2 separate regions of the Homo sapiens genome follow, and region 2 is linked to region 1. The links are contacts of gene promoters, found by promoter capture Hi-C in blood cells and fetal thymus (Javierre and others, 2016). All regions are on one chromosome and are shown on one strand. Each heading gives the region's core, a stretch centred on a gene start or on the middle of the fragment in contact. The rest is flanking DNA. Distances are from core to core; before and after follow the strand shown.

The links. The method cuts DNA at HindIII sites, captures the fragments that hold promoters and counts their contacts. A CHiCAGO score of 5 or more calls a contact.
Region 2: a fragment that was not itself captured here is called in contact with the fragment with the promoter of ITIH4-AS1 in region 1 in 1 of 17 cell types (M1 macrophages); the score reaches 5.6 in M1 macrophages.

Annotation. Positions count from the first base shown.
Region 1 is chr3:52,821,659-52,825,606 of GRCh38, reverse strand. It overlaps ITIH4-AS1 (ITIH4 antisense RNA 1), which reads right to left and starts at 1,672. Exons shown (of 3, transcript NR_046615.1): 1 at 1,614-1,672; 2 at 1,270-1,495; 3 at 293-402. It overlaps ITIH4 (inter-alpha-trypsin inhibitor heavy chain 4), which reads left to right. Exons shown (of 24, transcript NM_002218.5): 7 at 649-765; 8 at 1,042-1,210; 9 at 1,292-1,417; 10 at 1,603-1,784; 11 at 1,866-2,051. RefSeq lists a silencer at 1,191-1,348. The HindIII fragment of the contact is 13,495 bases long and covers 1-3,685 here.
Region 2 is chr3:53,011,690-53,015,637 of GRCh38, reverse strand. The region is part of intron 1 of SFMBT1 (Scm like with four mbt domains 1); the gene reads left to right. Among named protein-coding and RNA genes, the nearest start is that of SFMBT1, 32 kb to the left of the region's middle. The HindIII fragment of the contact is 5,176 bases long and covers 1-3,948 here.

The DNA.
Region 1 (3,948 bases), core at 423-2,922:
GTAGTTTCTTTCACACTAGTTTCTGGCATTATTATTGTTGTTATATTTTGGTATGATCATGGCTCACTGCACCGTCAAACTCCCAGGTTCAAAAGAAACTCCTGCCTCGGCCTCCCTAGTAGCTGGGACTACAGGCGTGCACCACCACACCTGGCTAATTTTTTTTTTTTTTTTTCCAGTAGAGACAAGGTTGCCCAGGCTGGTCTTGAATTCCTGGGCTCAAGTGATCCTCCCACCTAAGCCTCCCAAAGTGCTGGAATTACAGGCGTGATTCACCACACCCAGCCATTTCTGCCATTGTTATTATACTTCCCTTTTACTCCATGTTTTTGAAGTCTTCCCTCTTTTGATGGTTGTCAGGTTTATGATGTCTGAACTTTTTAGTATAAACCATCTGAAATACTAAAACAAATAGAAGGAAAAGTTGCAGGGAGAGTTCTGGTGGGCTATGCATGAGCAGGGAAGGCTTCCGCAAGAAAGGGGCTGGTCTGAGCCCTGAAAAAGGGCAAGGTTTTGGGGAGGTTAGCAGTGGGATGGAAATGGGATTGGAACAGAGCACAGAAACCCAGAATTTGGGGTAAAGGGGCTGAATGGGGATAGGGCCAATTGTAGCTCTGATGGCCTGGGTGGGTCTCACTCTGGCCACAGATCGAGAACGGCTACTTTGTACACTACTTTGCCCCCGAGGGCCTAACCACAATGCCCAAGAATGTGGTCTTTGTCATTGACAAGAGCGGCTCCATGAGTGGCAGGAAAATCCAGCAGGTAGGTCCTGTGGCCCAGGGCAGGGCCCTGAAAACTCCCAGGCCCTTCACGCTATCAGCTGTGGTCCGGCAGGCAGACCCCCTTGCTTCACCTTTCGGCACCATGGGGCGGGTGGCTCTCAGGAACCAAGGTTGGCCAGAGCCTAGGGCAGCCCCTGTTCCTAGAGCAGATACCATGACCTCACCCCTGAGACAGGAGTCCAAGGATGCCAGCCCTAGGGCACACGAGCCCTCAGGGAGCCCTTCTGAAGCACCTATGTTTCCTCTCCCTGACCAGACCCGGGAAGCCCTAATCAAGATCCTGGATGACCTCAGCCCCAGAGACCAGTTCAACCTCATCGTCTTCAGTACAGAAGCAACTCAGTGGAGGCCATCACTGGTGCCAGCCTCAGCCGAGAACGTGAACAAGGCCAGGAGCTTTGCTGCGGGCATCCAGGCCCTGGGAGGTAAGTGTCTCTGTGGCCCTGCAGGGTGGGGGCTTCCAGGGCTCCTGGCTGGGGACCACCTTGAGAGTGCGTGTTCCTCAGGGACCAACATCAATGATGCAATGCTGATGGCTGTGCAGTTGCTGGACAGCAGCAACCAGGAGGAGCGGCTGCCCGAAGGGAGTGTCTCACTCATCATCCTGCTCACCGATGGCGACCCCACTGTGGGTGAGGGCCCTGCCCGTGACTCCAGGACGTGCTGCACAGGGGAGGCGGCTGGGGCTGCACCTGGGCTTGCTGTGGGATCTGGGCAGGGAGAGGGGGTCACTGAGGCCCCTCGGCTCTGAGGTTCCAGAAATATTCTTCAAGCAAATCACTATTTTCTCACCCTCATCCCAAACCCCTGGGTCCAGGGGAGACTAACCCCAGGAGCATCCAGAATAACGTGCGGGAAGCTGTAAGTGGCCGGTACAGCCTCTTCTGCCTGGGCTTCGGTTTCGACGTCAGCTATGCCTTCCTGGAGAAGCTGGCACTGGACAATGGCGGCCTGGCCCGGCGCATCCATGAGGACTCAGACTCTGCCCTGCAGCTCCAGGTGCCAGTGTGCCCCAGGTGGGCTGCACAGAGAAGTGGGCAGTCATAAAGCCCAGCCTTTATGACACCCCCAACCCTGCAGGACTTCTACCAGGAAGTGGCCAACCCACTGCTGACAGCAGTGACCTTCGAGTACCCAAGCAATGCCGTGGAGGAGGTCACTCAGAACAACTTCCGGCTCCTCTTCAAGGGCTCAGAGATGGTGGTGGCTGGGAAGCTCCAGGACCGGGGGCCTGATGTGCTCACAGCCACAGTCAGTGGGAAGCTGGTGAGTGTGGCCAAAGCCACCCTGGAGGGGAATGGCAGCCTCCACCTCTGCAGCCAGAGGGGCTGGACTCAAATCCCAGACCTGCCCAGCTCCAGCTTTCCCCTCTGCTGCCTGTGGATGACACAGGGGCATGGCAGGGATTCAATGAGACAATGGAGTGATTCTCATGAGACCAGCACATACAGGCTCTCGGCAGCCGGTCTGTGCACCTGCAAGCACAGGTGAGGGCAGGGATTCCTCCCTAGTTGTCATCCCTTCCTGTCCTGGTACCACAACCCTCTCAGGTTGCAGTCAGACAGGGAGGGCTGCTCCTATTTCACAAATGAGCAGACTGAGCTCCAGGCAGGGCAGGCAGCTTTCCCCGGGCCCCACTGCAACCAGGCCAAGAGCCCAGCTTGCCACGTGGCACCCTGTCCTTGCCCAGCCTTCCCTGCCTCCTTCCAGGGACCCCCTGTCATTTCCACAAAGAGAAACTGAGCACAAGCTCTGCGGCAGGGCCTTCTTCAGGCCCTGGGATGCAGCAGTGAATGAGGCTGACCCCTCCGTGCCCTCATGGGAGAGACAACCCAAGGACATATCACCACACAAACCAGCTACAGGCTGGGATCTAACCCTGGACTCAGGAGAGCAGCACCAGGAGCCCCAGCCTGGCCTGGGGATCAGGGAGGGCTTCCTGGAGGAGGCCCAGCAGAGACAAAAGGATAAGTAGGAGGTGGGAAGAGTCCAGATGGGGCAATGGAGGAATATGTTAGGCCCCTGTGGCATGAGGGCAGCGTGTGTGAAGAGAATAGGAGTGGGCGTTGGGGGCCCATGGCCTTGTTTCAGGACAAGTCCCCAAGTGTCATGACTGTTGGTACGGTCTGCGTGGCCACCCTGCCTGGCTTCAAACCCAGCTCTGCCACCTCCCAGATAGGAGACATGGAGAAGTCACTTAACCTCCATCTACTGCAGTTTCCTCCTATGTAAACATGGGAATAAGTCGCATGCCCCCCTCATAAAGTCACTGTGATTGATGTCCAGTGATAAGCACTCCATACATGTCAGCAGGTGATTTAGCTTGGAGGCCGTGGGTTCCCAAAGTACAGAACCCAAGGTGACTCAGGGGAGTTCACAGACAGACATGGCTTGTTTTAGTGGTTATTTACTTATTTTAATGTGTATTCTGAAAAATATGACCTGAACTTCAGACCTAAGATTTTTTTTTTTATTTTTTGAGATGGAGTCTCGCTCTGTCTCCCAGGCTGGAGTGCAGTGGTTGGATCTCGGCTCATTGCAAGCTCCACCTCCCAGGTTCACACCATTCTCCTGCCTCAGCCTCCCAAGTAGCTGGGACTACCAGCATCCACCACCACACCCGGCTAATTTTTTGTATTTTTAGTAGAAAGGGAGTTTCACCTTGTTAGCCAGGATGGTCTCGGTCTCCTGACCTCGTGATCTGCCCACCTTGGCCTCCCAAAGTGCTGGGATTACAGGCGTGAGCCACCGCACCTGGCCCAGATCTAAGATTTTATGGACATAAAGCCAAGTAAAAATTGTTAGCTTACTTAAAGTTCATTTAAGGAAAAATATCAATTAAATAGCTGTATGTGTGGATGGGGCAAAATTCATGCAGGTAGCCTATGTGTGCCAAAGCTTTGGAAAGCCAGCCAGGCTCTGGGCGAGAGACAGGCTGCTCCAGTGGGAGCAGACCGCAGATCTGATCCGCACTGTGAAAAGGTCTCTTGGCCACTCAGGGAGCTCTGGTGGGAGAGGCCTGGGATTCCTCTGCCCTAGGAGCCCATTTCCCAGGCAGCGAGCTAGGTCAGTCTGAGACCACAGGCCCCTCCCTGAGGGAGGAGGGAGCAGGTTCACACAGAGCTTGGGTGCATGCTTCCCTGTCATTGTCCCACGGTGGCCA
Region 2 (3,948 bases), core at 1,028-3,527, 190 kb before region 1:
CATATTGTGTGTGTATCAGTATTTCATTTGTTTTTATTACCAGATAATAGTCTACTATATGGCTATGTCACATCTTATTTATCTACTCATCAGTTGATGAACATTTGGGTTGTTTGTACATTTTGGCTGTTGTCAGTAATGCTGCTGTGAACATTGCTATACAAGTTTTTGTGTGAACATTTGTTTTCATTTCTCTTGGGTATATACCTAGGAGTGGAATTGCTGGGTCTATGGTAACTCTTATGTTTAACTTTTTGAAGAACTGCCAAACTGTTTTTTCAAATTGCCTATACCATTTTACCTTCTGGTTTCTCCACATCCTTGACAGCACTTGTTATTCTCTATTTTTTTTTTATGATAACCATTCTTGTAGCTTTAATTGGGGTATTGCCAATTAAAATACAATGATTTTTTTTTTTTTTCCTTGGGACAGGGTCTCTCTCACCTGTCACCCAGGCTGGAGTGCAGTGGCATGATCTTGGCTCACTGCAACCTCTGCCTCCTGAGTTCAAATGATCCTTCCACTCAGCCTCCTCAGTAGCTGTGACTACAGGCGTACACCACCATGCCCAGCTAAGTTTTGTAGAGACGAGGTTTCACCATGTTACCCAGGCTGGCCTCCCACTCCTGGGCTCAAGCGATCTGCTGTGCCAGCCTCCCAAAGTGCTGGGATTACAGGCATGAGCCACTGCTCCCGGTCCTATTACTTTTTATATAACTCAAACATGATTCTGGCTTTTTAAATGACATTTGTTGAGGGAGGTTGCTTTATGCTTTCATTTTGGGGGTCCTCCAGATTCATAGTTTCTCTCTGCTGTATTAACATTTATGCTGGCTGTGTCTTTATTCATTCACTCACTCCATCACACACTGAGGGCCTGTCCTTTAGAGTCTAGTCCCAAGAGAGCCTAGGACTCACCCCTGTCAGAGACTGTGACACCTGATTTTGTGTTGCGAAAATAAAGAATATTGTAAAAATAGTTGTACAGTTTATAAGGTAGACTAGATGTACTACTGTTGGTCTCCAGAGCTTTTTATGAAGATCTGTTATCAGTAAAAGCTCTCAGATAGGTTTCTTCTTGTTAGTTGATTCATTGGGTGGTGGTTCTAGAAACTGTTTTGTTTTGTTTTGTTTTGTTTTGTTTTGTTTTGTTTTGTTTTTTTTAAATACAGGGTCTCTCACTCTGTCACCCAGGCGGGAGTGCAGTGGTGTGATCACGGCTCACTGTAAACTTGACCTCCTGGGCTCAAGCGATTCTCCTGCCTCAGCCTCCCAAAGTGCTGGCATTACAGGCATGAGCCGCTGCGCCTCACCTAAAAACTTTCTAAGAAGTGATCTCAATTCTTTCCTGAATTGAGGCTTTAGGACATTCAGTGAAATGCCTAAGAAGAAATGATAGAAGATGAGGAAATCCATTTTGGAAAAAGCCTTACATGTAAATATTTTATTTTTGAATGGCAGGCAGCTCGGTGTGTTGGCAGAATAACTTAGGTTATGGATTTGGCTGTCATTTACTAGTTGTGTGATATTTGATAAGTTAAATAACTTCTTTGAGTCTCTTATTTCCTGACCTTTAAAATGGGAATATTTCAAATGGTGGTGGGATGGAAGAGGTATCATATCACATGGTGCCTAGTGCGGTAAGCACTAAGTGTCAGCTCTCTTCCTCCCTGACTGCAAGGCAGTTTATTTAAATAAAATGATTCTTGGCCGGGAGCAGTGGCTCACACCTGTAATCCCAGCACTTTGGGAGGCTGAGATGGGCGGATTACCTGGGATCAGGAGATCGAGACCAGCCTGACCAACATGGTGAAACCCCATCTCTACTAAAAATACAAAAATTAGCTGGGTGTGGTGGTGGGCGCCTGTAATCCTAGCTACTTGGGAGGCTGAGACAGGAGAATCGCTTGAACCCAGGAGGCGGAGGTTGCAGTGAGCTGAGATTGCGCCATTGCACTCCGGCCTGGGTGACAGAGCAAGACTCCATCTCAAAAAAAAAAAAAAAAAAAAAAAAAAAAAAAGATTCTTTATAAATAAACTGTGTTCCTTCTTGAAGTAATTAAATTTACTATTAATGGATTATTATCTAATAGTAACAAAATGGTGAGAGCATTTTGGCAAGAGCAAATATAGTAATCATTTCCTAGAATGTGAAAAAAGTTGATTCCAGCTAGCAGTGGATAGAAAAGTGAATTTAGCAGAAACTCACCTCTGGTCTGTTTTGAACAACTTAGCCATACAATACCACTAAGAGTTATACTCAAGACGTAATATTCTTTGGCAATTCTAAGTTTACCTGTTCCCTGTTGTCCACCTAGAAGAGTTTTACTCTTTAGGTGAAAGATTGAAGAATGATTACCCTTACCATTTTGAGTAGAAACTAGTGCATAAATTGTAACTTAGCAAGTTTCATGAATGAATTGTACTATCTCAACTTAGAGCCCATCACTGGAAATATTGATGAAAATATTTTCCATTGAAGCAGCAAGTGTTTTTGCCAACATTATAATCAAATCCAGTAGCTCCACAATTCCTAAAGCAGATTTTCAGATGATTGTGATTGGTCTTTTAGATGCTTTTTCAAAATATGGTTTACGGTTTGGGAAAGGTAGTATAAAATATTTATAATTTTTTATGGGTTTTTTTGTATTTTTGTTATTAGTCTCTTTAGCATTGAGTTTTGAGAGATGTTAGCTTTTCAACTATAAAGCAGGTGAAATATGCTCCAATCAGTGTATGTTAATTTGTTATATTTATAGCTGAACTAGATTTGCTGGTGATGGAAATTTAGCCTGCAAAAACTAAATTGTGTCTTCCATTTTCCCATAATTGCATTACCTTGAATCATATGATATGTAGGCCCTAACCTTTGACTTTTGGGTTTGTTGGCCAGTGTTTTCCTATTACTAAAATAAGCAAAGGATTAAGAGCACTCGGCCGGGCGCGGTGGCTCACGCCTGTAATCCCAGCACTTTGGGAGGCAGAGGCGGGCGGATCATGAGGTCAGGAGATCGAGACCATCCTGGCTAACACAGTGAAACCCCGCCTCTACTAAAAATACAAAAAATTAGCCGGGCGTGGTGGCGGGCGCCTGTAGTCCCAGCTACTCGGGAGGCTGAGGCAGGAGAATGGCGTGAATCCGGGAGGCGGAGCTTGCAGTGAGCTGAGATCGCGCCACTGCACTCCAGCCTGGGCGACAGAGCGAGACTCCGTCTCGGGAAAAAAAAAAAAAAGAGCACTCACTGCAAGGCACTTCTGTCCTTTTTAGCAGCCATTGAATCTTGTCCATTTGCTGCGCAGCGACTTAAATGCCTACTTCTTATTCACGGCCTTCAGTTTGTATCTGTCCTTCTCTTCTCAGCCACCCACATCGTAGCCTCGGCTTCCACCACACAACTGGAAATCTCTCCCAGAGGGTGCCAGTAACCTTTGTAGTGGCAAGGCCAGTGTCCTTTCTTTTCTCAGCCTTTATTCTCTTGAATTTCCTTTCATGTTTGGCTTTGTCATTGGTGCACTCCTCTTTGTGAGAGGAAACTTTCTAGGTTTCCTACCTCTCAATTTTTTCTGTATTTAATTTATACAAAGTGGCTCATGTAGTGGCTGGCACATAGATACTTAAAAAGTGTTAGTTCCTACCTCTCTTTTTTTGTGGTCTCTCCTTCATTCTCTGTTCATTTCTCCGTGAGATTTTCTGATTAGTAGTTACCTTCAGCATGCCAGTTGACTTGCAAACCTACAATCCAACCTTTCTTCTACTTTGTCATCTGACAACAGCCTGGTTTGTAGCTGATTCCAGGACTTCTTCACTTGGGTGGCCACTCTCATTACCACAGAGTTCACTAGTCATGGTGAACACACCAGTCTTTTACACCTCCCTCACTCCCAAACCTCAGTTCTTCTTAACTACTATCCCAGTATTTTCAGTGGCACCAGTATTTATTTTCCTT